4 separate regions of the Homo sapiens genome follow, and all the other regions are linked to region 2. Evidence: promoter capture Hi-C in 16 types of primary human blood cells and fetal thymus (Javierre and others, 2016). All regions are on one chromosome and are shown on one strand. Each heading gives the region's core, a stretch centred on a gene start or on the middle of the fragment in contact. The rest is flanking DNA. Distances are from core to core; before and after follow the strand shown.

Evidence for each region. Contacts are between HindIII fragments. The CHiCAGO score rates a contact against its expected background, and 5 or more counts as called.
Region 1: a fragment that was not itself captured here is called in contact with the fragment with the promoter of TREH in region 2 in 2 of 17 cell types (naive CD4 T cells and total CD8 T cells); the score reaches 7.8 in naive CD4 T cells.
Region 3: a fragment that was not itself captured here is called in contact with the fragment with the promoter of TREH in region 2 in 1 of 17 cell types (naive CD4 T cells); the score reaches 6.2 in naive CD4 T cells.
Region 4: a fragment that was not itself captured here is called in contact with the fragment with the promoter of TREH in region 2 in 4 of 17 cell types (naive CD4 T cells, total CD8 T cells, non-activated CD4 T cells and 1 more); the score reaches 9.3 in naive CD4 T cells.

What each region holds. Positions count from the first base shown.
Region 1 is chr11:118,903,037-118,909,255 of GRCh38, reverse strand. It overlaps BCL9L (BCL9 like), which reads left to right. Exons shown (of 10, transcript NM_001378213.1): 4 at 601-986; 5 at 1,654-1,773; 6 at 5,804-6,020; 7 at 6,182-6,219. Among named protein-coding and RNA genes, the nearest start is that of MIR4492, 4.6 kb to the left of the region's middle. RefSeq lists an enhancer at 1,724-1,793. The HindIII fragment of the contact is 3,900 bases long and covers 2,360-6,219 here.
Region 2 is chr11:118,675,466-118,682,215 of GRCh38, reverse strand. It overlaps TREH (trehalase), which reads left to right and starts at 2,566. Exons shown (of 15, transcript NM_007180.3): 1 at 2,566-2,677. The coding sequence starts at 2,589. RefSeq lists enhancers at 2,015-2,674, 2,675-3,336. The HindIII fragment of the contact is 8,736 bases long and covers 1-6,707 here.
Region 3 is chr11:118,847,685-118,854,228 of GRCh38, reverse strand. No RefSeq gene overlaps it. Among named protein-coding and RNA genes, the nearest start is that of CXCR5, 33 kb to the left of the region's middle. The HindIII fragment of the contact is 5,498 bases long and covers 1-4,604 here.
Region 4 is chr11:118,812,670-118,818,607 of GRCh38, reverse strand. No RefSeq gene overlaps it. Among named protein-coding and RNA genes, the nearest start is that of DDX6, 24 kb to the right of the region's middle. The HindIII fragment of the contact is 2,869 bases long and covers 2,027-4,895 here.

The DNA.
Region 1 (6,219 bases), core at 3,060-5,559, 230 kb before region 2:
TCCTCCTGCTTCTGCCTGCCGGCCTGGCCTGCCAAGCCCCCCTCCTCAGGCCTTCCCCTCCAGCTGTCTGGACCAGTGGGTAGCACTCCCTGGTGTGCGTTTTCCCACTGTCCCTGGGGAATGAGACCCGGGCATGTGCAGTGACCCCAGGTCCTGTGGCCCTTCTCTGCTGGTGTTGGGACATATGGGAGTTGAGGTTTGAGACCTTGGAAGGAGTCTGAAGACAGCAGATCTTAGAAGAGAGGATGCTTAAGTCTGATACAGAGGACAGGGTTGCCACAGAAGCTTGCAGGCTGATGGGTGTTTTGGGGCTGAGGTGGGTGAATTCTGCCAACTCTAGGCCCTGGTTTCCATTCAAATTGTGGAGGCTAGGGGGTGGAGGGTTTCCCCATCTCCACTCCCCAAGGTGGATGAGGGCTTCAGCCCTTGTCTGAGGAAGCCATGGAGGGAGGTAGAGAATAGCTGGTGGTGGTCTTGAGATACCACCCCTTCCCCCCACCCTCCCCCATTGTTAGGGGAGGCAGGATGGGGTAATTAAGTTGCAGGCATGCCTAGCCCCTAGCAAGGTTAACTTTTCACATTTCTCCCACCTCCTCCCAGGTTACCCCACCCCAGGAGGAGAGAAGCTCCAGGGAGCCCGCCGCTGTCCCCCCGCGGTCATTGCCCCCCTGCCCCAGCCAAGCCAATGCACCCAGAAAATAAATTGACCAATCATGGCAAGACAGGGAATGGCGGGGCCCAATCTCAGCACCAGAATGTGAACCAAGGACCCACCTGCAACGTGGGCTCGAAGGGCGTGGGGGCGGGGAACCATGGGGCCAAGGCCAACCAGATCTCGCCTAGCAACTCAAGTCTGAAGAACCCCCAGGCAGGGGTGCCCCCTTTCAGCTCGCTCAAGGGCAAGGTGAAGAGGGACCGGAGTGTGTCTGTGGACTCTGGAGAGCAGCGAGAGGCTGGGACCCCATCCCTGGATTCAGAGGCCAAAGGTACCCCATTTCCTCATCCCTAAGACCCTAGCATCTCCCATAGTCCAAGGCTCAGATGTTCTGGGAGATCACCTCTCTGCTCCCTGCTTGTCCAGTCCTCATCCCACGTTCTTCTCCAGTATTTCTGCATGGGTACCTTTCAACACCCACCAACCAGATCATTCGGGATTGGGGTTGGCCATGATGCCACCCATGGAGGGGCCACACAGAGTGGTCGGACTTCTGGACTCCTTCCCCTCCTGCTTTCCCACCAGAGCTCCAGAAGGGGAGAGGGAGGTGCCATGGAGTGAGGAGCAGACCCCAGACCCACACACTTCCAGGAGCCTCCGTATCCCGGCTGGTGGGAGCCCTTTGGGAGCAGGCACTGGGGCCTGGAAGAGTAGCAGCAGCTCCCCCTCCCCTCCAGCCCTAATTAGAACCAGTTGTGGTTGGGGATTATGCTGTACTTGGTGTTGGGGGGGAGGGGAGACAGGCATGGGGCTATAGAGAGAAATCAGAAACAAATGGTGGCGTGGTGGGGGCCACGGGCTGGCGAAGTGCCCACCATGGCCTGGGCAGTGCCCTCTAGGGTGGGGCATCTTAGAGAATGGATCTGGGAGGGACCCTGGGTGTGGGAGAATAATGGGGCCTCTAGGCACTCACTCTTTCCTCCGTCCTGCCTGGGCAGAGGTGGCGCCGCGGAGTAAGCGGCGCTGTGTGCTGGAGCGGAAGCAGCCGTACAGTGGGGACGAATGGTGCTCTGGACCGGACAGTGAGGAGGACGACAAGCCCATTGGGGCCACCCACAGTGAGTGCCTGTCGATGCCAGGGTGCTGTAGCCCGTGATGTTCCTGGGGGATGGACTTGAGAGGACTGAGCCTGGGAAAGAAGTGAGGACTGGGAGTCCTGGATTTTTCTCTCCCATCCTACCTCTCAGACTCTGTCCCTCCCTACACTGCAACTGCCTCGCCTCTGCCTTCCAGGTGCTCAGTGACCCCCTCTCCCTAGGGACCCTAGGTGGGGCAGAGTGGAGTGGCCTCCTTCTTGGTCACGTCACCTGCACCTCTACCTGTGAATTCCTGGCCTATGCTGCCACCTACTGGTTAGTGGAGGGAGGGCGGTGAAGCGTCCAGGGACACTGGGAGCCGGGCAGTTGGCTCTGCTGTGCAAAGCCCTGCTAAGCCTGGGTGTGAGTTGCCACTTGGCCGTGTCTCTAGTGCCCTTCCCTAACCTCTAATTGACTCCTGGCAAGTACCCAGGGTGTGTCACCAGGACAAGAAGTGGGTGTGGAGGGATGCCCACTCCTCCTCTGATTCTTTTATGGATTCGCCTATATCTTGTCCTTCCATGAGTGATGGGGGAGAGCCAGATGTAACCCCTGCCCCTGGGAAGCTTGTACATATTTTTTTTCCCTCAAAGTTTACGTTTACATCTTTTTGAGGAGAGAGACATAAGAAACTAGCCAGAGAGGCTGGGTGTGGTGGCTGTCACCTGTAATCCCCAGAATTTGGGGAGCTGAAACCGGAGAATTGCTTGAGCCCAGGAGTTCAAGAACAGCCTGGCCAACATAGGGAGACCCCATCTCTAAAAAGAGAGAGAGAGAGAAAGAAAGGAAAGAAGTAAAGAAAGAAGAAAAAGAAACTAGCCAGAGACTATTAAATTGTGAACTCCTTGAAGGCAGGGACCATAGAAAGAAGAAAGAAAAGAGTACATTGGCTACTTTGCTACTCTGTTTTATTTAATCCTTACAACAGCCCTGTGAGGTCAGTGTTATCATGATGCCAATTACAGAGGAGGAGAGAGAGTCAGCAAATGTTATGGAGTGAGCAGACTATGTCTGTGACAGGGGTGTAGAGGGTCAAATACCAAACCTCTACAGCTAGCTGGAACCTCACAGACCATCCTGTATCAGTTCTCTCTCCCCCGTGGGACTAACCTGGTGGTCGCCAAGCCTCTGGCTGAACCCTTTGATGATAGAAGCCTTTACTGCTTCCCAGACCAGACACCTCCCCCCATAGCCACCACCTCCAGTTCACTTATGTCACATCAGACTGCACCATTGTAGAAACTTTGTGAGTTTTATTTATTTATTGTTTAGAGACAGGGTCTCTCTCTGACACCCAGGCTGGAGTGCAGTGGTGTGATCACAGCTCACTGCAACCTCAAACTCCTGAGCTCAAGTGATCCTCCCATCTCAGACTCCCAAGTAGCTGGGGCTCAGGCATGTATCACACCTGGCTAATTTTTGTAGAGACAGTCTTGCCATGTTGCCCAGGCTGATCTTGAACTCCTGGTCTCAAGCGATCCTCATGCCTTGGCCTCCCAAAGTGCTGGAATTACAGGAGTGAGCCACTGTGCCTGGCAAACATAGGGAAATACAAAGTAGAAATTGCTAACATCCCATACTCAAGGCGACTATTTTAGTCGTACTACCCTTAGATTCTTTTATTTATTTATTTATTTATTTATTTTTGAATCGGAGTTTCACTCTTGTTGCCCAGGCTGGAGTGCAATGGCACGAACTCGGCTTACTGCAACCTCTGCCTCCTGAGTTCAAGCGATTTTCCTGCCTCAGCCTCCCGAGTAGCTGGGATTACAGGCACCTGCCACCACGCCTGGCTAATTTTTGTATTTTTAGCAGAGGTGGAGTTTTAGCATGTTGGCCAGACCGGTCCTGAACTCCTGACCTCAGGTGATACACCTGCCTCAGCCCCCCAAAGTGCTGGGATTACAGGCGTGAGCCACCCGGCCTGATTCTTTTTTTTTTTTTTTTTTTTTGAGACAGAGTCTCACTCACTCTGTTGCCCAGGCTGGAGTGCAGTGGCACAATCTCGGCTCACTGCAACCTCCACCTCCTGGGTTCAAGTAATTCTCCTGCTTCAGCCTCCCAAGTAGCTGGGATTACAGGCATGCGTCACCACGCCTGGCTAATTTTTGTATTTTTAGTAGAGATGGAGTTTCACCATTATGGCCAGGCTGGTCTTGAACTCCTGCCCTCAAGTGATCCGCCCGCCTCGGCCTCCCAAAGTGTTAGGATTACAGGCATAAGCCACCGTGCCCGGCCTGCCCTTAGATTCTTGAAGAGTTCTTACTGGAGGGGCGATAGAACGTAGACATTGACAGGACTAGTTCTGCCATCAGGCTGCCTTCGTTTGCAACCCAGGTTATTTCTGTAAATTTGGGAAAGGGCCTCAGTTTCCTCATCTGTAAAAGTATTATTTATCTCATAGGGTTGGTATGAGGAGTAAATGAGGTTATACATGTAACATGTTAGCTTTTATCATTGTTATTGTACTAGAAAGTTCCTTGTTGGACTAAGCCCTGCCTGTCTCCCCATAGCTCGTATCCAAGAGCTACTCAGCAGCCTTCACACATTGAGGTCAGCTCTCAAGCTCCCCCGCAAATTTCTGGCTCTGCTCTTCTATGTAAAATTGGATAGATAGGGTCCAGAGCAGGGCCGTTTTGGGGTGGGTCCATCAGAGAAGAAGGTGCAGAAGAAACTTTTTCCAAAGAGGGCAGCCTGACACTGGGCCCATGGGAAGGTGGTCACTGCCCTGGCTGGATGGAGACAACTTCAGGCAATCTGTCTCCCATTAACTGAGAATGCTGGTACTTACTGTCTGCGGGCCAGGAACTGTGACTTGCTTTTCTTGGCATGCGAATGGGTCTACCCACTCACCTAGACCCGTTGTAGATTTTTTTCTACGCTAAGACTTACAGTCAAGTGTCTAACCATGGAACAAAACTTCCCTTGGTGCTGAGGGCAGCTGGTCTGTCTTGAGAGTGTTTCCAGTATGTCAGCTTTTTCTAACTGTTTTTTCTTTCTTATTTTTATTTATTTATTTATTTTTTTGAGACAGTCTCGCTCTGTCGCCCTGGCTAGAGTGCAATGGTGTGATCTCGGCTCACTGCAACTTCCACCTCCTAAGTTCAAGCAATTCTCATGTCTCAGCCTCCTGAGTAGCGGGATTACAGCCATGCGCCACCATGCCCAGTTAATTTTTGTATTTTTAGTAGAGACGGGGTTTCACCATGTTGGCCAGGCTGGTCTTGAACTCATGACCTCAGGTGATCCGCCCGCCTCTACCGCCCAAACTGCTGGGATTACAGGCGTGAGACACCGCTCCCGGCTCTCTGTTTTTCAAATGGATTTTTTTAGTCTGTGACATTGATTTAAACTTACTGTTAAAAAATATATTTCTTTGGCCTGCCCCCTGTGCAAGGAGGAGGTTAGTATTTTACATTTTATAGATGAAGAAACCGAGGCTTAGAGGGATGTCTGGTTCATAAAATCACAAAGTCAGTTAGTGGTGGGGCTAGAGTGAAAAACCATCCATCATTTGGATCATCAGCTTGTGTACCCTCTCTGCCTTCTCCCTAACTGGGTCACTAGACTGTGTGCACATACACTTACCCAGTGAGAGGGGCAGCAGCTCAGAGCGGAGCTTCAGAGTCCCGGCCCTGGGTTCAGTTCTGGCTCTGCACTAACTGGCTGTGTAACTGTGGGTGAGGAACTTATTTCCTCCTTTGTTAAGTGGAGTGTGTGACACGTTCCTCCCAGGGTGTGTTGATGAGATGAAATCACACCTGTTAAGTCCCCAGCAGAATGCCAGGCCCATGGGAGCCTGTGGAGAGGACACATTTTCTCTGTCCCTGCTCTCCACATGGTCACCACTCTTGCCATCGTGGAAACCAGCCTGGTGAGAACACCAGATACTGACATCAAATGTCCCTGTGGGCACGAGCTGTAAGGCTGTGAGCATCAGTGGGAGGGGGCATCAGCTGGTCCTTCTTGTATCTAGACCACTTAGCCCCTTTCCCTGTCCTCTCTCCTGCAGATTGTAATGTAGCAGACCCAGCCATGGCGGCCCCACAGCTGGGTCCCGGCCAAACCACCCAACTGCCCCTCAGCGAGAGCAGCGTGCCAGGCGCCCCGCACGGCCCTCCTCCTGGCCTTCGGCCTGATGCCCCTGGGGGCGGGGGCGGGGGCGGGGGCGTCCCCGGAAAGCCTCCCTCGCAGTTCGTATATGTCTTCACCACCCACCTGGCCAACACGTAAGTGCCTGGTGGGCAGGCCAAGTCTCTCTCTCTCTCTGCCCAGCACCTCTCAGCCTGGGGTTCCGAGGGAGCCCCGTGCAGGGGCAGGGTGGGGTGGGTGAGGGTGGGGCTCCCTCCTGCTCACCTCTCTGAGCTGTCGGTGCCCCCACTCTGTGCAGGGCTGCAGAGGCAGTGCTGCAGGGCCGGGCCGACTCCA
Region 2 (6,750 bases), core at 1,317-3,816:
AGACATCACAAGAGGGCTGGGCATGGTGGCTCACACTTGGGGAGAAACACTTTGGGAGGCCAAGGCGGGAGGATCACTTGAGGCCAGGAGTTCAAGACCAGCCTGGGCGACACAGTCAGATGTAGTCTCTACAAAAAAATTTAAAAATTACCCAGGCGTGGTGGCATGCACCTGTAGTCCTGGCTACTCAGAAGGTTGAGGCCAGATGACCACTTGAGCCCCAGGAAGTCGAGGTTGTGGTGAGCTGTGTTCATGCCACTGTATTCCAGCCTGCTGGGTGATGGAGCAAGACTATGTGTCCAAAAAAAAAAAAAAACAAAACAAAACAAGGAAAGAAAATTACAGTCAAATATGCTCTATACATATTGATGCAAAATTCCTCAAAAAAATACTCGCAAGCCAAAACCAACAGTTTATTAAAAGGATTAGACATCATGACCAAGTGAGATTTATCCAAAGAATGCAAGGGTGGTTGCACAGCATTGTGAATGTAATAAAAGGAAATTGAATTGTACACTTAAAAATTGTTGACCAGGCATGGTGGCTCACACCTGTAATCCCAATACATTGGGAGGATGAGGCAGGAGGATTGCTTGAGCTCAGGAGTTCCACACCAGCCTGGACAACATAGGGAGACCCAATCTCTAAAAAAAAAAAAATTATTTTTAATTTAAAAATTAGTTGGGCGTGGTGGCATGTGCCTGTGGTCCCAGCTGCTCAGGAGGCTGAGGTGGGAGAATCCCTTAAACCTGAGAGATCAAGGCTGCAGTGAGCTGTGATGGAGCCACTGCATGCCAGCCTGGGCAACAGAGCGAGACCCTGTCTCAAAAAACAAAGCAAACAAAAAAAACAATGCCAGCTGCCCACATTACTGGGTGGAGCTATCTGAACCTTTACTAGTTCAGAGTGGTGCCTGATTCATGAGTCATTTCTTTGCTTGAATAAATGGTTAAATTTAATTTGTCTAAGGTTTTTCTTTTTAATAGCAGTAAACACTGCTCAGGTGCCACAACTGACATCCTTAACTGCAAACCTAAGTCCTTCAGGAGAGGTCATGCCTATCATTAAACTCCATGTGCCTTGCCCACCCCCTGTCCCCTGTCCCTTCAGCTCACCTTCCATATGTTGAGGGGATGAGCCTCCTAAAGTAACCGAATCTGCTTTTTTTTTTTTTTTTTTTTTTTTGAGACAGAGACTTACTCTGTCGCCCAGGCTGGAGTGCAGTGGCATGATCTCGGCTCACTACAACCTCTGTCTCCCGAGTTCAAGCGATTCTCCCACCTCAGCCTCCTGAGGAGCTGGGATTACAGGTACCCGCCATCATGCCCAGCTAATTTTTGTATTTTTGTAGAGACGGGGTTTCACCATGTTGGCCAGGCTGGTCTTGAACTCCTGACCTCAGGTGATCCACCCGCCTCGGCCTCCCAAAGTGGTGGGATTACAGGCATGAGCCACTGCACCCAGCCTGAATCTGCTTCTTAAGCTCACAAACTTCTCTGCTGGTTCCACTTTGGGGAATTACAAGGAATTACATTCCTTGGCTTGGCAAAGACCATTTCCAGACTGGTGCCAACATGTTCCTCCAGTCTATCTCAAAACCCTTCCCTGCATGAACACCAAGTTCTCTGCAGCTAGGCTGAGGGGTTTGCTCTTCTCTTCACATGCTCTGCATACATTGTAGTGGTCTCCAGCCCATTTCCCTTGGCAAACTCCTATGCGGTCATCAAGACTCATTAGGACTGGCGCAGTGGCTCACGCCTGTAATCCCAGCACTTTGGGAGGCCAAGGCGAGCAGATCATGAGGTCAAGAGATTGAGACCATCCTGGCCAACACAGTGAAACCCCGTCTCTACTAAAAATACAAAAATTAGCTGGGCGTGGTGGCGGGCACCTGTAGTCCCAGCTATTCAGGATGCTGAGGCAGGAGAATTGCTTGAACCCGGGAGGCGGAGGTGGCAGTGAGCTGAGATCACGCCACTGCACTCCAGCCTAGCGACAGAGTGAGACTCAGTCTCAAAAAAAAAAAAAAAAAGACTCATTACAAATGACACACTATTGTGGGTCTCCCTTAGTCCTCCCCAGACAGAATGGTTCTACTGTCCTGTGCTTCCGCTGTATCTCTTGCAGATAACAGTGAGAGGCCCTGAATTTCACACCACACCAGGGACAGGATCTTGAGCCATTCCATTTGAAATGTTAAGGGAAATGGTAACTCTCTGAGGTTGGTGGTCTTGGGGCCACCCAAGGAACCTGGCATCCAGGTTACAGGTGTGTGGCCTCGACTGTGTCCCTGGCCTTTGGGTGCCCACTCCCCACCCCCACCACCATGCTCTGAGGGAAGGGCCTGAGCCATTGGCACCAGCTGAGACTGTGAAATAGAAGAGGCAAAGTAGAAGCAAGGGAGGTGGCCACTGTGCCCTGAGAGCAGGAGGGGCAAGCGGGCCACACACAGACCAAGCACACGTCCCCTCAGGTGGCCACGCCTCAAAGGCTGGACTTTGGCCGACTTGGACAGGCAGGTGAGCCAGGCTGTGCCCAGCAAGCCGAAGGTGCCTGGGCTTGCTCATTCAGTCACAGTCACAGCCACCATGCCAGGGAGGACCTGGGAGCTGTGCCTGCTACTGCTGCTGGGGCTGGGACTGGGGTCCCAGGAGGCCCTACCCCCACCCTGTGAGAGGTAGGGGTGTGGGGAAGGCAGCAGGGGAGGATGGCAATAAGAGGGAGGCTGGGATGAGATCTCAAGCTCTGGGGTCGGTACTTCAGAGGGAAAGGAAGAGATTATAAAGGAAGGAAAGAGTAGGGAAGAGAAGAAAATGAGAATTCCTATGTAGCAGGCTCTGTGCTGGGCACTGCACCTGCAGTCCGTTTTTTTTGTTGTTGTTGTTAGAGTCTTGCTCGGTCGTCCAGATGGAGTACAGTGGCACCATCTCCACTCACTGCAGCCTAGACCTCCCGGGTTCGAGAGATTCTCGTGCCTCAGCCTCCTGAGTAGCTGGAATCACAGGCATGCACCACCACGCCCAGCCTGTCATTGATTTTTACCAAAATTTTCCACCGTTGGAAGGGACATTAGGCTTGGCGACTGTGCTGGGAATACAAGCGTGAGCCACCGCCCCCTGTCGGGACCTGCAGTCCTGATACCAGACGCAGCTGCCAGAGCCTGGCCTGAGGTCCAAGAGCCTGCTGGCCAGAGCCCGCCCTCCCTTCCTCTCCTCCTCCAAGCTGCCCCTTGAACTGTGCAGGCCTCTTCTCAGGATTGTTCTAGCAAACTTTCTGCTCCAGCTTCCTAGTCTGGGTGTGAGAGGCAGCCTAAGGGCCTGAAGACAGCACTTGGGCTTGAGCCCTGACCCTCATATTCTCTCTGTGACCCAGGGCAGGTCAAGGCTCTTTCCTGAGCCTGAGTTTCCATCACCAGGGACAGAGATGAGTGACCCTGTCCTGTCTCCTGGACTCAGGCGATGTCCACCCTTCGTTCCACATGGATTTATGGAGCTGTGGCCACATCAGCCACTTTACCAGCTCCTGCAAGAACAATAATAATAGAAGAAAAACAGCTGGGCACGGTGGCTCATGCCTGTAATCCCAGCACTTTGGGAGGCCAAGGTGGGAGCTATCATCTGAGGTCAGGAGTTCGAGACCAGCCTGGCCAACATGGTGAAACCCCATCTCTATGAAAAATACAAAATTAGCCGGGCATGGTGGCGCACGCCTGTAATCCCAGCTACTCGGGAGGCTGAGGCAGGAGAGTCGCTTGAACTTGGGATGTGGAGGTTGCAGTGAGCCAAGATCATGCCATTGCACTCCAGTCGGGGCAACAAGAGCAAAACTCTATCTCAAATAATAATAATAATAATAATAGAAGCAAAACAGTAACAGAAGCACAGTTTGAAGTAGAGAGAAGTTAGGGCCCGCTGGTGTGGGTGAGCAGAGGGTGTGTTAGAGAGGATGGGGAGGGACGGTGTCTCTGAGGAGGTGATGTGTAAGCAGAATTGTGGCAGGAACCATTGCTGAGCTGATCTGGGAGAGGACAGTCCAGGCATGGAAAGGGCCATGCAGAGGCCCTGACGCACTGTTCAGGGATTGGGACGAAGGCCTGTGTGATTGGGGCAGAGTGGGAACAGGTCCGGGGAGAGCGGGGCTCCAGGCAACAAGGTTTGGGCTTGGGTTCCAGTGGTTAGACTAGAGACAGAGACAAGGGGTTCAATAGAGGGTGTGTGTTACAGGGAGAGTTGACAGTGCTTGCCCATGACAATTGTGGAATATAAAGGGGAAAAGTGTACCTGGGATAATTAATAGGTTTTGTCCTGAGCAATTGTAATGAGGACTTCAGAGAGGCTGGGTGGTCCAGTGCTTTGTCAAGCATTAGGCTGTTTGCCAAATGTAGGGGAAGATGACTTTACTGGTGTTCCCTAAGACCAACCTCAGGCCAGTGATTCACTAACACTTCCAAATGGTTATACCATGATTATGGTTTCATTTTTTTTCTTTTTTTGAGACAGAGTCTCGCTCTGTCGCCAGGTTGGAGTGCAGTGGTGCAATCTCGGCTCGCTGCAACCTCCACCTTCTGGGTTCAAGCGATTCTCCTGCCTCAGCCTCCCCAGTAGCTGGGACTACAGGCACCTGCCACCACGCCCAGCTAATTTTTGTATTTTTAGTAGAGACAGAGGTGTTGCCATGTTGGCAAGAATGGTCTCAATCTCTTGTCCTTGTGATCCGCCTGCCTCAGCCTCCCAAAGTGCTGGGATTACAGGCATGAACCACCGTGCCCAGCCTTGATTATGGTTTCTTACAGTGAAAAGATACATGTTAAAGCCATCAAAGGTGAAATATTCTAGGGCCAAGTCCAGGAGAAAATAATCTCAATCTTCCAGTTTTTCCTCTCCCAGTGGATTTATATGGACAGGACTTGATTTTTCCAGCAATAACATGTGACAGCACGCATGAAGTATTGCCAATCACAAAAGCTCACCTGAGTCTTGGTGTCCAGTGTTTTTATTGGAGGTCAGTGATGAAAGCGTGGACTACCTGTGTGGCTGACCTCAGTTACTCACTCTCCAGAGTTCAAACTGATACTGGGCGGCCAAAGGCCCCTGCCACAAATCACATTATTAGCATCAAATATCTGGCATGGCCCAAGGCCCCAGAAAAACAAAGACTTATCAGGCAGCATATTTTGGTAATTTAAATCTCATCTCTCAGGGCTGGTCACAGGCCAGAATTTTCTCTGAAATGTGCAGGGTTTGAACACAGCAGACCTGCTGAGTCAATCCTTTCATGTATAAGCCACTTCTTGTATAATGAGGAATTAGTTTCATTTTTGTCTTGGGTTCCTCCAAAGTAACCTCTAAGCTCCTTGGAATCTCCCAAGTGATAGGAATGTCTGTTATTAATAGTGGTCCCTGATTAGTGTTTTTTTGTTGTTGTTTTTTTCTTTCTTTTTTTTTTTGAGACAGCAATCTAGCTCTGTTGCCCAGGCTGGCAGTGCAGTGGTGAGCATTTTGGCTCAATGCAACCTCTGCCCCCAGGGTTCAAGTGATTCTCCTGCCTCAGCCTCCCAAGTAGCTGGGACTATAGGCACGCACCACCACGCCTGGCTAATTTTTGTATTTTTAGTAGAGACGGGGTTTCACCATGTTGGCCAGCTGGTCTTAAACTCCTGACCTCAAGCAATCCACCCACCTTGGCCTCCCAAAGTGCTGGGATTACAGGCATGAGTCACTGCACCTGGCCTGATTGCTTTTTGAGACAGGGTCTCACTCTGTCACCCAGGCTGGAGTGCAGTGGTGCAGTCATGGCTCACTGCAGCCTCAATCTCTCTGGGCTTAGGTGATCCTCCCACCTTGGCCTCCTGAATAGCTAGGACTAGGTGTGTGCCACCATGCCTGGCTAATTTTTGTATTTTTTGTAGAGATGGGGTTTTGCCATGTTTCCCAGGCTCTTGGTAGCTTTTGTTAATGAGGTGACTTATGGTGGGTCCCTAGACAGCTTCTGCTAACAAGACGACTCCACATGAAGGCAGGCCGTGCCAGAAAGGCCAAGCATGTGTGTAGAGGGTTGGGGTTTTGGTCCACATGATATCAGCCCAACTTCTCAACCTTCAGGGAGGAGAAGGGGCTGGAGATGGAGTTCAATTACATGATCAATGATTCAATCAATCATGCGTATGTCATGAAACCCCAATAAAAACTCTGGACTTCAAAGTCCTGGTAAGTAGGCTGGGCACAGTGGCTCATGCCTGTAATCCCAACACTTTGGGAGGCCGAGGTGGATGGATCACTTGAGGCCAGGCATTTGAGAGCAGCCTGGCCAACATGGTGAAACCCTGTCTCTACCAAAAATGCCAAAAATTAGCAGGGTGTGGTGGTGCATGCCTGTAATCCCAGCTATTGAGGAGGCTAAGACGTGAGAATCATTGACCTGGGAGGTGGAGGTTGCAGTGAGTTGAGATTGCACCACTGCACTCCAGCCTAGGTGACAGAGTGAGACCCTGTCTCAACAAACAAACAAATAAAACAAATAAATACCAAGTCCTGGTTGGTGAACACATTGATGAGCCAGGAGGGGAAACGTCCTGGTTCCATGGGGAAAGGACACAGAAGCTCTACATTCAGGGCCCCCCTAGACCTTGCCCCATGCACCCCTTCATTTGGCTGATCCTGGCTTGTATTCTTATAATAAAACTATAGCCCTAAGCATAACCGTAAGCTTTTCTGAGTCCTGTGAGTTGTTCTAGCAAATTATCAAATCTGA
Region 3 (6,544 bases), core at 606-3,105, 170 kb before region 2:
AATGATTATTATGTGCCAGATACTATGATAAGCACTTGATATGAATTATCTCACTCAGCCTTCATAATACCCAATATTACTTTCATTATATAAATGAAATGAGCAAACTGAGGTTCATAGAGTTTAAGTAACTTGTGCAGTGGGCATGCATTTGGCAAGTGACAGAGAAGGGATTTGTACCTACACCTGACTCCAGAGCCTATTCTCTGCCTCCATCATCCTCTGGAATTTTTTCAGGTCATTAATGGAGTGAGTAATTTTCCCAGACTGTCAGAGGGGTTTGAACCAGAGCGACTCCATCTTGAATAGGGGCTGGGTAAAATGAGACTCAGACCTACTGAACTACGTTCCTAGGAGGCTAGGCATTCTAGTCACAGGAATAGACAGGAGGTCAGCACAAGATACGGGTCATAAAGGCCTTGCTGATAAAACATGTTGCAGGTGGCTGGGCGCGGTGGCTCACGCCTGTAATCCCAGGACTTTGGGAAGCCGAGGCGGGCGGATCACGAGGTCAGGAGTTCGACCTGGCCAACATGGTGAAATCGCTACTAAAGATACCAAAAATTAGCTGGGCATGGTGGCGTGCGCCTTTTGCTACTCGGGAGGCTGAGGCAGGAGAATCACTTGAACCCAGGAGAATGGCTTGAACCCGGGAGGCGGAGGTTGCTGTGAACACTCCAGCCTGGGCGACAGGGAGAGACTCTGTCTCAAAAACAAACAAACAAACAAACAAACAAAAAACACACGTTGCAGTGAAGAAGCCAGCCAAAACCCACCAAAACCAAGATAGTGACAAGAGTGACCTCTGGTTGTCCTCACTGCTCATTATACGCTAATTATAAAGCATTAGCATGCTAAAAGACACACCCACCAGCGCCATGACAGTTACAAATGCCATGGCAACATCAGGAAGTTACCCTATATGGTCTCGAAAGGGGAGGAGGCCGGCGCGGTGGCTCACGCCTGTAATCCCGGCACTTTGGGAGGCCGAGGCGGGTTGATCACGAGGTCAGGAGATCGAGACCATCCTGGCTAACATGGTGAAACCTCGTCTTTACTAAAAATACAAAAAATTAGCCTGTGGTGGCGAGCGCCTGTAGTCCCAGCTACTTGGGAGGCTGAGGCAGGAGAATGGCGTGAACCTGGGAGGCGGAGCTTGCAGTGAGCCGAGATCGCGCCACTGCACTCCGGCCTGGGTGACAGAGCGAGACTCCGTATAAAAATAAATAAATAAATAAATAAATAAATAAATAAAATAAATAAATAAATAAAAATAAATTTAAAAAAATAAAAAGGGGAGGAACCCTCAGTTCTGGGAATTGCCCACTCTTTTCCCAGAAAACTCATGAATAATCCACCCCTTGCTTAGCATATAATCAAGAAGTAACAGTAAGTATCCTCGGTCGAGCAGCTCAAGCCACTGCTCTGCCTATGGAGTAGCCATTCTTTTATTCCTTTGCTTTCTTTTTGTGGACTTTCACTTTGTGGACTTGCCTCAAATTCTTTCTTGCGCATGGTCCAAGAACCCTCTCTTGGGGTCTGGATCGGGACCCCTTTCCGGTAACAAGATTAGAATGCCATTCTTGACTGACTTAGACCGGAGCAGAATAGGAGAAATCATCACCTTCTTGAAGTGTGTGCCAGTCGGGGCCATCCTTGCTGATCTTGGGAGGAACTTCTCTCTTGACCCAAGAGGGAAGGGATGGAATCATTTCACAAGGCACAAAGACACCGTCTTGGCGACAAGCAGGAAGAAGCCATGACCCGTTCTTCCTGTGGGCCAGGCCAGGAAGAGTTGAGTCCCAGGTGGCCATGCCAAGTTCCAAAGGGTGATGTTGAAGAAGACTGCAAGTGATGCTGAGATTGAGCTCTAGTGTTTTACAGAAGCAAGCAGACCCCTGGACAGAGGCCTCTTGACAGAGCAAACTGCTGGGGGCAAGCAGTGTTCAGAGAGTCAGAGCAAATGTGAGAATGGCTGGAGCAAAGAAAATGTAACTACTCCCTCCTCTACCCACCCCTCCTCCAAGTAACCCTCAGCCCGTCTGTCCCAGTTCAATGGTTACACTTCTTGACATTATGTTACAAGCTGTTGGTTCATATTTAGCTTGTGGTTGGCCTAAACCACCAGATCTTTTTCATACAAACTGCTATCTGGCCAGTTCCTTCCATCCCATGCTTCTAGTACACGTGCAACTAATTTAAAATAAAGCAAAACGTAAATGCAAGATATCCCACATACAATTTAATTCTGTTTGATTCTGGTCAGCTGAAATAATTAAAAGTTTTAATTCTGTCATCTTTTGTAATAATTCCCTTCCCAGTTTGCATCATCTGCCAAAGTGGTAAACATTGATTATTTTGTCCTAGCAGGTAGTGAGAATGCTGAACAGGACCAAGCAGAGTCCTCTGGCATAATGCTACAACAGGGGTCCCCAAAGTGTGGTCTGGGAATATCAGAGGTCCCAGAGACCCTTTCAGCGGGTCTGTGAAATCTAAACTATTTTCATTGATTGATTGATTGATTGATTGAGACGGAGTCTCGTTCTGTCGCCCAGGGTGGAGTGCAATGGCACGATCTCAGCTCAACGCAACCTCTGTCTTTCCGGTTCAAGAGATTCTCCTGCCTCAGCCTCCCAGTGGCTGGGATTACAGGCACCTGCCACCATGCCCAGCTAATTTTTGTATTTTTAGTAGAGACAGGGTTTCCCCATGTGGGTCAGGCTGGTCTCGAACTCCCAACCTCAGGTGATACACCCGCCTTGGCCTCTCAAAGTGCTGGGATTACAGGCGTGAACCACTGCACCCAGCCCCAAAATTTTTTTTTTTTGAGACGGAGTCTCGCTCTGTCGCCCAGGCTGGAGTGCAGTGGCGCAATCTCGGCTCACTGCAAACTCCAACTCCCGGGTTCATGCCATTCTCCTGCCTCAGCCTCCTGAGCAGCTGGGACTATAGGTGCCCGCCACTACGCCCGGCTAATTTTTTGTATTTTTAGTAGAGACGGGGTTTCACTGCGTCAGCCAGGATGGTCTCGATCTCCTGATCTCGTGATCCACCCGCCTCGGCCTCCCAAAGTACTGGGATTACAGGCGTGAGCCACCGCGCCCGGTCCCAAAAATTTTTTTTAAAAAAGAAAATAAGCCGGGCATGGTGGTTAACGCCTGTAATCCCAGAACTTCGAGAGGCCGAGGCAGGCAGATCACCTGAAGTCAGGAGTTCAAGACCAGCCTGACTAACATGATGAAACCCCGTCTCTACTGAAAATACAAAAATTAGCCGAGTGTGGTGACAGATGCCTGTAATCCCAGCTACTTGGGAGGCTGAGGCAGGAGAATTGCTTGAACCTGGAAGGCAGAGATTGCGATGAGCCGAGATCGCGCCACTGCATTCCAGCCTGGGCAAAAATAGTGAAACTCTGTCTCAAAAAGAAAAGAAAAGAAAAAAAATTTGGACTGAGCACAGTGGCTCATGCCTATAAGCCCAGCACTTTGGGAGGCCAAGGCAGGCAGATCCCTTGAGGCCAGGAGTTCAAGACCAGCCTGGCCAACATGGTGAAACCCCATCTGTACTAAAAATATAAAAATTAGGCCAGGCACAGTGGCTCACACCTGTAATTCCAGCTTCTTAGGAGGCTGAGGCAGGAGAATTGCTTGAATCCGGGAGGCGGAGGCTGCAATGAGCTGAGATCGTACCACTGCCCTCCAGCCTGGCAACAGAGCAAGACTCCATCTTAACAAAATAATAATAATAAAAAATTATCTGTGAACTGTTATAGTGCTTACATGCCATTTTCACTCTTGTTCTATCACAAAATGTGGAATGTTCCAGAGGCTACAGAATGACTGATATCACACTAGACTACATGCAGCACCAGTTATGAGAATCCAGCTGTCTTCTGTGAAGCCAGAGATGAATAAGATTTGTAAAAATGTAAAACAAAGCTGCTCTTTTCTCACCAACTTCTTTTTCCTTTTGAAATGTAGTTGTGTTTCATAAAAGTGTTTGAGTATGTTTGGGCTGCTATAACAAAATACCTTAGGCTGAGTAATATATAAACAACAGAAATTTATTTTTCACAATTCTGGAGATCGGGAAGTCCATGATCAAGGTGTCAGCAATTTTGGTGTCTGGTGAAAGCCTGTTCCTCATAGATGGCTCCTTCTTTGTGTCCTCACAAGGTGTGAGGAGCAAGGAAGCTCCTTCAAGCCTCTTTTACAAAGGCACTAATCCCTCGATAAGGGTGGAACCTTCATTACCTAATTACCTCCCAAACACCCCGCCTCTTAATATCATCACCTTGGGGATTAGGTTTCAACATATGAATTTTGGGGAGTACGCCAACATTCAGATACTAGCAAAAGTTATTTATGTATGTTATTTATGTTGACACACAATGAGTTTATTATTATTTTATTCTGTTTTTTGAGACAGAGTCTCACTCTGTCGCCCAGGCTGGAGTGCAGTGGCGCGATCTCGGCTCACTGCAACCTCCGCCTCCCAGGTTCAAGCAATTCTCCTGCTCAGCCTCCTGAGTAGCTGGGACTATAGGCGCCCACCACCATGCCTAGCTCATTTTTTTATTTCCTAAAAATATTTAAGTGAAAGCTTTTTTTTTTTTTTTTTTTTTTTTTGAGATGGGCTGGAGTGCAGTGGCTCAATCACAGCTCACCAAAACCTTGAACTCCTGGGCTCAAGTGATTCTCCCATTTCAGCCTCCCAAGCAGCTGGGACTATAGTCATGCAACATCACACCTGGCTAATTAAAAAAAAAATTATTTTTGGCCAGGCGCAGTGGCTCACGCCTGTAATCCCAGCACTTTGGGAGGCTGAGGTGGGCGGATCATGAGGTCAGGGGTTTGAGACCAGCCTGATCAACATGGTGAAACATGTCTCTACTAAAAATACAAAAATTAGCTGGGCGTGGTGGCAGGTGCCTGTTATCCCAACTATTTGGGAGGCTGAGGCAGGAGAATCACTTGAACCCAGGAGGCGGAGGTTGCAGTGAGCCGAGATCATACCATTGTACTCCAGCCTGGGCGACGAGAGCGAAACTCCGTCTCAAAAAAAAAATATTTTGTACAGACAGGGTCTTGCCATGTTGCTCAGGCTGGTCTTGAACTCCTGAGCTCAAGAGATCCTCCTGCCTTGGCTTCCCAAAAGGCTGGATTACAGGCATGAGCCACTGTACCTGGCCAACCGTGGTACTTGGTTTGCAATTGATCTATGAAATGCTTTCTACTCTATACCTTTTAGAAAAGACCACCAGATGCAGTTTTCTTTTAGTTGGCAGGGCTGCAGTACACCTTCATGTCGCTACCTCAGGGCTCCATGCACTCTCTAACCTCTGTCATAATCTGGTCTGAGGAGAGGAACATGTGGTGAGGAACTGAGGCATCCTGCCGAGAAGCAGCAACAACTTGTACTGTGTGCCTGGAGTCACAGCTGCTTGGGAGACTGAGGTGGGAAGATCACTTGAACTCAGGAGGTGGAGACTGCAGTGAACTATTGTGCTAATGCACTCCAGTCCTGGTGACACAGAAAGGTGCTATCTCAAAAAACAAAACACAACAGAAAAAGCGACCAAGTGCCATGGGATGTGTTGATTTGCTTTAGCGATGAAATTATACCTGGAACAGCAGCTGCAATTGGAGTTACAAGGCTGTGGATAACCCACTTTCATTCTCCTGTGTCCTTCAGTCTGCTGACAGGCAAACAGGTGATTTGAGCAGGGATATGGTAGGAATTACCACCTCTGTGTCTTTCAAGACCTTGTTAGTGGCACTAATCTCATCAAGCCTTCCAGAAATGTGATACTGTTTTTGGTTTACTATTTTAGTATGTAGACACAGTTCTAGTGGATTCCACTTGGCCTTTTTTATCATGATAGCCTTCGTGCCATGGGTCAGAGAACCAATACAAGAAGTCTACCAGTTGTTGCCGGGCGCGGTGGCTCATGCCTGTAATCCCAGCACTTTGGGAGGCTGAGGCAGGTGGATCACGAGGTCAGGAGATCGAGACCACCCTGGCTAATGCAGTGAAACCCCATCTCTACTAAAAATACAAAAAATTAGCCGGGCGTAGTGGCGGGCACCTGTAGTCCCAGCTACTTGGGCAGCTGAGGCAGGAGAACGGCATGAACCCGGGAGTCGGAGTTTGCAGTGAGCCGAGATTGCGCCACTGCACTCCAGCCTGGGTGACAGAGCGAGACTCCGTCTCAAAAAAAAAAAAAAAAAAAGAGTATGTTGTTGAGTATGTCTACTCATACACCTACTGAATATATCTAAACTGCAATGTATACCCACCTGTGCATTCTGGAACTGGGGAAATAATGATGCGATGAGTTCTGGGAACTACTGGGCTTGCTGTGAGATGGAGCCAAGCCAAAACTTCATAGATCATCTAACTTCCATGAGCCTCTGCTCTGACAATGGGACACAGTGCCATTTTGGTTCTCCGGGGATTAGCACCAGTTCAGAGCCGAGGTTTACTAACTCCTAAGTATCTGGTCATTTCTCCTTCTCAAAGCACAGTCACCCTGCGTTATGGC
Region 4 (5,938 bases), core at 2,212-4,711, 140 kb before region 2:
AGTTTCCTCCTCCCTCAGGTTTCCTGTGTCTTTGCTGTTCTTTTTCCATCCCTTTGGTCTAAGCATAGATTTTTAAACTTTTGTTTGTAGATGAAATGAGTTGGAGTCCTCAACAAAATATTTTGCTAAATATAAGGGAAAACAAAAGAACATTTTTGAAAGCAGTATGAAACAATGGTATGACTTTAGAAAATTGTTTGGCCGTATTAAAACTGACCATAATCATATACTATTTATATTTGTAAGTCAAATATTAATATTAATATTATTTTTATTATAATATATTTTAATATATTATAATGTATTTTAATATATTTTTATTAAAATATATAACATTTGTAAGTCAAAAAGAGACAATCATATTTTTTGTTTGTTTGTTTTTTGAGAGAGAGTCTAGCTCTGTCACCTGGGCTGGAGTGCAGTGGCACTATCTCGGCTCACCGCAACCTCCACCTCCCGGGTTCAAGTCATCCACCTGCCTCAGCCTCCTGAGTAGCTGGGATTACAAGCATGCACCATCATGCCCGGCTAATTTTTGTATTTTTAGTGGAGACGGGGTTTCACCATGTTGGCCAGGCTGGTCTCGAACGCCTGGCCTCAAGTGATCCACCCACCTCGGCCTCCCAGAATGCTGGGATTACAGGCGTGAGCCACCGCGCCCGGCCATTGGAGACAATCTCTATCTCCACATGCAATAGAATGGATAAACTAGGTTATTTCACTCAATGGAACAGCACAACAAGAATGAACAAACTACAACTACATGCGACAAATGTGTGAATCTTACCAACATAATGTTGAGCAAAAGAAGTCAGAAAGGAAAATATACCGTATAATTTTATCTAAAGTTCTAAAATAGTTAAAACTAATCTATGGTGTTTGAAGTCAAGATGGTTTTTTGTTTGTTTGTTTGTTTGTTTGTTTGTTTGTTTTGAGAGAGTTTCACTCTGTCACCCAGGCTGGAGTGCAATGGTGTGATCTTGGCTCGTGGCAACCTCTGCCTCCTGGGTTCAAGCGATTGTCCTGCCTCAGCCTCCTGAGTAGCTGGGACTACCAGCGCGTGCCACCAGGCTCAGCTAATTTTTTTGTGTTTTTAGTAGAGACGGGGTTTCACTGTGTTAGCAGGATGGTCTTGATCTCCTAACCTCGTGATCCGCCCGCCTCCGCCTCCCAAAATGCTGGGATTACAGCCATGAGCCACCACGCCCGGCCCAAGATGGTTTTATCTATCTCCCAACTGAGGGATTTTTCAGTCTCCAGAAGATTGGTAGAATTATGGTGAGTATTTATATCCAGTGAATAAGCATATCTTTTGGGTAAGATCCCAGCTCCTATATTTAAAGTGTCTGTGTTCTCAATATAAATCAAATAATAAAATAATACTTCAACAAAACAATAATTATTGCATTAATACAGTAAATTCTCCCCCTTTACAATAGAAGCTCCATGGGAGCTGGGATTTTGTCTTAATCACTGCTTTATTTTATTTTTATTTTACTCATGGGTGCCATAGGACACCTAGAACACACAGCACCTAGAACAGTCCTTGGCACATAATAGGCACTGAATAAAAATTTCTTGGATGAGATAACTATATTCAAACAGAACAGCATAGCACAGAGGATAACAGTATGTGTTCTGGAACCAGATTGCTTTGGTTCAAATCCCAACTCTGCCACTTTCTAGCTATGAGACACTGGACATGTTATGTAATCTATCCATGCCTCAGTTTCCTCATCTGTAAAACAGAGAGACTACTAGTATATTCCTCTTAGGGTTGCTGTGAGGTTTAAGGAACACTTGTAAAGATAACGTATGGAATTATTTGATGACTACCATGACAAAAGAGGGCTTGCCCTACCTCTTAGAAACATAGGAAATTTGGTGTCTTCTGACCATCTGTGTGACATACAATAGAATAAATCATTTTAAAAGCTAATACACATTAAATAAATGAAATGAAGAAAACTTTAAAATTATTAAAATTGAAGAGTCCAGCAAGATTTTCTGTAAGTGAAGACAAGCTTATTCTAAAATTTATACAGAAAGTCGAAGGAGCTAGAATAGCTAAAACAATTTGGAAACAGAAGAATAATCTGGAAGCAATCATTCTGTCTGATGTTAAGATTTACTGTATTGCTACAGACTCACTGTAAAGATATAGTAATTTAAACAGTATGGAGTAGTGACAGATACACAGGTCAATGGAACAAGCCAGAAATTGATTTTTGACAAAGGAGCAAAAGCAATTCAATGGAGGAAGAATAGTCTTTTCAATGAATAGCCCTGTAGAAATTGGACATCCATAGGCAAAAGAAAAAAAAAAAGAACCTTGACCTAAATGTCACTTTTTTTTTTTTTTGAGACAGAGTTTTGCTTTTGTTGCCCAGGCTGGAGTACAGTGGTGAAATCTTGGCTCACTGCAACCTCCACCTCTTGGGTTCCAGTGATTCTCCTGCTTTAGCCTCCTGAGTAGCTGGGATTACAGGTGCACACCACCATGCCCGGCTAATTTTTTGTATTTTTAGAGGAGATGGGGTTTCACCATGTTGACCAGGCTGGTTTTGAACTTAGCTTAAGCGATCCATCCACCCACCTCAGACTCCCAAAGTGCTGGGATTACAGGCGTGAGCCACTGCACCCGGCCTAAACTTCACATCTTACACAAAAATTAATTCAAAATGGATTGTGAATTTATATACAGCATGTGAAAAAAGTTAATCACTGTATGATTCCATTTCTGTGACATTCTTTTTTAAAAATTTTAATTTGATTTAACTTAATTTGGCCAGGCACGGTGGCTCACGCCTATAATCCCAGCACTTTGGGAGTCTGAGGTGGGTGGATCGCTTAAGCTAAGTTCGAGACCAGCCTGGTCAACATGGTGAAACCCAGAGTATACAAAAAGTACAAAAATTAGCTGGGCAGGATAGCATGCACCTGTATTCCCAGCTACTCGGGAGGCTGGGGCGGATCACTTGATCCCAGGAAGTTGAGGCTGCAGTGAGGCAAGATGGCACCACTGCACTCCAGCCTGGGCAACAGAGTGAGACCGTCTCAACAAAAATAATTATTTTTATTCATTTATTTATTTTTGGAGACAGAGTCTCGCTTTGTCACCCAGGCTAGAGTGCAGTGGCACTATCTCGACTCACTGTAGCCTCTGCTTCCCGGGTTCAAGCGATTCTCATGCCTCAGCCTCCTGAGTAGCTGGGATTACAAGGGCATGCCACCACGTCCTGCTAATTTTTCGTATTTTTAGTAGAGACGAGGTTTTGCCATGTTGACCAGGCTGGTCTTGAACTCCTGAGCTCAGGCAATTTGCCTGCCTTGGCCTCCCAAAGTGCTAGGATTACAGGCGTGAGCCACCTTGCCCAGCCCTGATTTTTTTTAACTTAATTTTATTTTTTGTAGGGATGGGGTCTCCTTATGTTGCTCAGGCTGGCCTTGATAAACATTATTCTCTTTTAAGTTATTATCATTATTATTATAACAGGAGAACCATTCAGCCACACACTGCCTGACATAGAGTAGGCAATCCATACATATTTGCTGAATGAATAAATTATAGGTACAGGGAAAAGATGGAAGAGTGATAGATTTTCTTTTTTTTTCTTTTTCTTTTTGTCTTTTTCTGAGACAGGGTCTCATTCTGTCACCCAAGCTGGAGTTCAGTGGCATGATCTTAGTTCATTGCAGTCTCCACCTTGCTGGCTCAAGTGATCCTCCCATCTTAGCCTCTTGAGTATCTGGGATCACAGGTGCACACCAACATGCCTGGCTAATTTTTGTATTTTTTGTAGAGGTGGGGTTTTCCCATGTTGTCCAGGCTGGTATCAAACTCCTGGGCTCAAGCAATTTTCCCGCCTGGGCCTCCCAAAGTGCTGGGATTACAGGTGTGAGCCACCCTGCCAGGTTGAACTTATGTTCTAATGAGGGAAACAGACTTAAGGCCTTATGGCTTTGAGCTGAGGTTTTGAGGATAAGCAGATGAAGAAGGATGAAGAATATACTGGGAAATGAGAATATAAAGATTAATTGAGGCTGGCCATGGTGGCTCACGCCTATAATCCCAGCACTTTGGGAGGCCAAGGCAGGAGGATTGCTTGAGCCCAGGAGTTCAAGACCAGCCTGGGCAACACAGTGAGACTCTGTCTCAAAAAATACAAAAATTAGCCAGGCATGGTGGTGTGCACCTGTGGTCCCAGCTACCCAGGAGGCTGAGTGGGGAGGATCACCTGAGCCTGCGGAGGTCAAGGTTGCAATGAACCGAGATGGTGCCACAGCACTCCAGGTTGGGCGACAGAGCAAGATCCTGTCTCAGAAGAAAACAAAAGAATCAGGTTACTGTACAGCCCAAATATGAAGAAAATGGATTCAGGCAAGTAATCAAAGCCTAGGAAGTTAATAAATGAACTATGAATTAATTATTCTCTCCTTTGCCTTCTCCTTCTCTCTTCTCTTTTCTTCTCCCTACGATATAGTCATAACTTGGGGAAGGATATGATCGCACACGGCATAAAGTGTGGTGACATTGCTAATGGGATGAGAAGCAGATCAGCTGGGGAGGAGATTGGACTTTCTGAGGAAAAGCTCCTGAAATGTCCTGAAGTAACAGGTGGATCTAATGTCAGAGCTGTTTGTAAAATGGAAAAAGGGTGAGATGTGTCATCTTCTGGGATAAGTGCTATCAGCATGATAATCCACATGTTATGCACCTGCTTGTGTTTTTGCTGCTGGGAGCACTTTCCACCAACACACAACTTACTAATGAGGAAATTGCTAAAGAGAACCCAAGAGATTAAACACAGATCTGCAAAGAGGGATGTGTTTACATCCTACATGTGAGTAGAGTGAGTATATTTTTAGGGTAGCAAGTTCTGGCCAAGCAAGCTTAACATGTAAACATGAGAATTGCCCTACTTTAAGGGACCCACCCAATTCGATATTCTGTTTTGGAGTGTGGAACTGAAAACATAATTAGTATATAGAACTTAATGTATAAATGGCCAATTTAGTTTTCACTGTTTGCTGTCCTGTAATAAACCTACATCATCTTCTGAATGAGATTGACTCTCCACTAGGACAGGGTCCCTATTAAATCACCAGCTACCTGGCAACTTTGGAAAAAGTCATTCTGGATAGACAAGTTAAACACACAGACAAGGATGACTTCTCCAGACATGAATTTTAAAATGTATATTACACTTTTCCGCCTCACACCTGTAATCCCAGCACTTTGGGAGGCTGAGGTTGGAGGATCACTTGAACTCAGGAGCTTGAAACCAGTCTGGGCAACATAGCAAGACTCAGTCTCCACAAAAAAATTAAAAACTAGCTGGATGTTGCGGCACATACCTGTAGTCAGAGCTACCCGGGACGCTGAGGTGGGAGGATTGCTTGAGCCCAGGTAGGTTGAGGCTGCAATGAGCCGTGACTGCACCATTGCACTTCAGCCTGCGTGACACAGTGCGACCCTGTCTCAAAACAAACAAACAAACAAAAACAACCAAAAAAACCCAAAACCAAAACAAAAAACCCCCAAACCTTTTCTAAATAGATCATGGTGATAACAATGTTATATAATAAAGTTTGTAGAACCATTTTTTTCTACAGCAAATGTCCCAGAATGCTGCACTTCTATGTGGAATTTGTATAGTTTTTCCTGTCAGTCTCCCTGTTATCCACTTCTACTTCTCTTTGCTGTAAGGGTAGAGCTTACTTAATACAGACTCTCTTTCCTTCTAATATACGGTCTAATCTGCTATGGACAGGTGATAATTGTTACATTTGCACACTTTACCAATTACAAAGTGCTCATCAGACCTTTGCAGGTGATATCATTGTCTTTGGATCATAGCCCTGGGGCTGGGGACTTGACCTTGCCTGGCCAATCAGAATATTCCATCTCCCTTACCAATGATTGGTTGTGGGATGG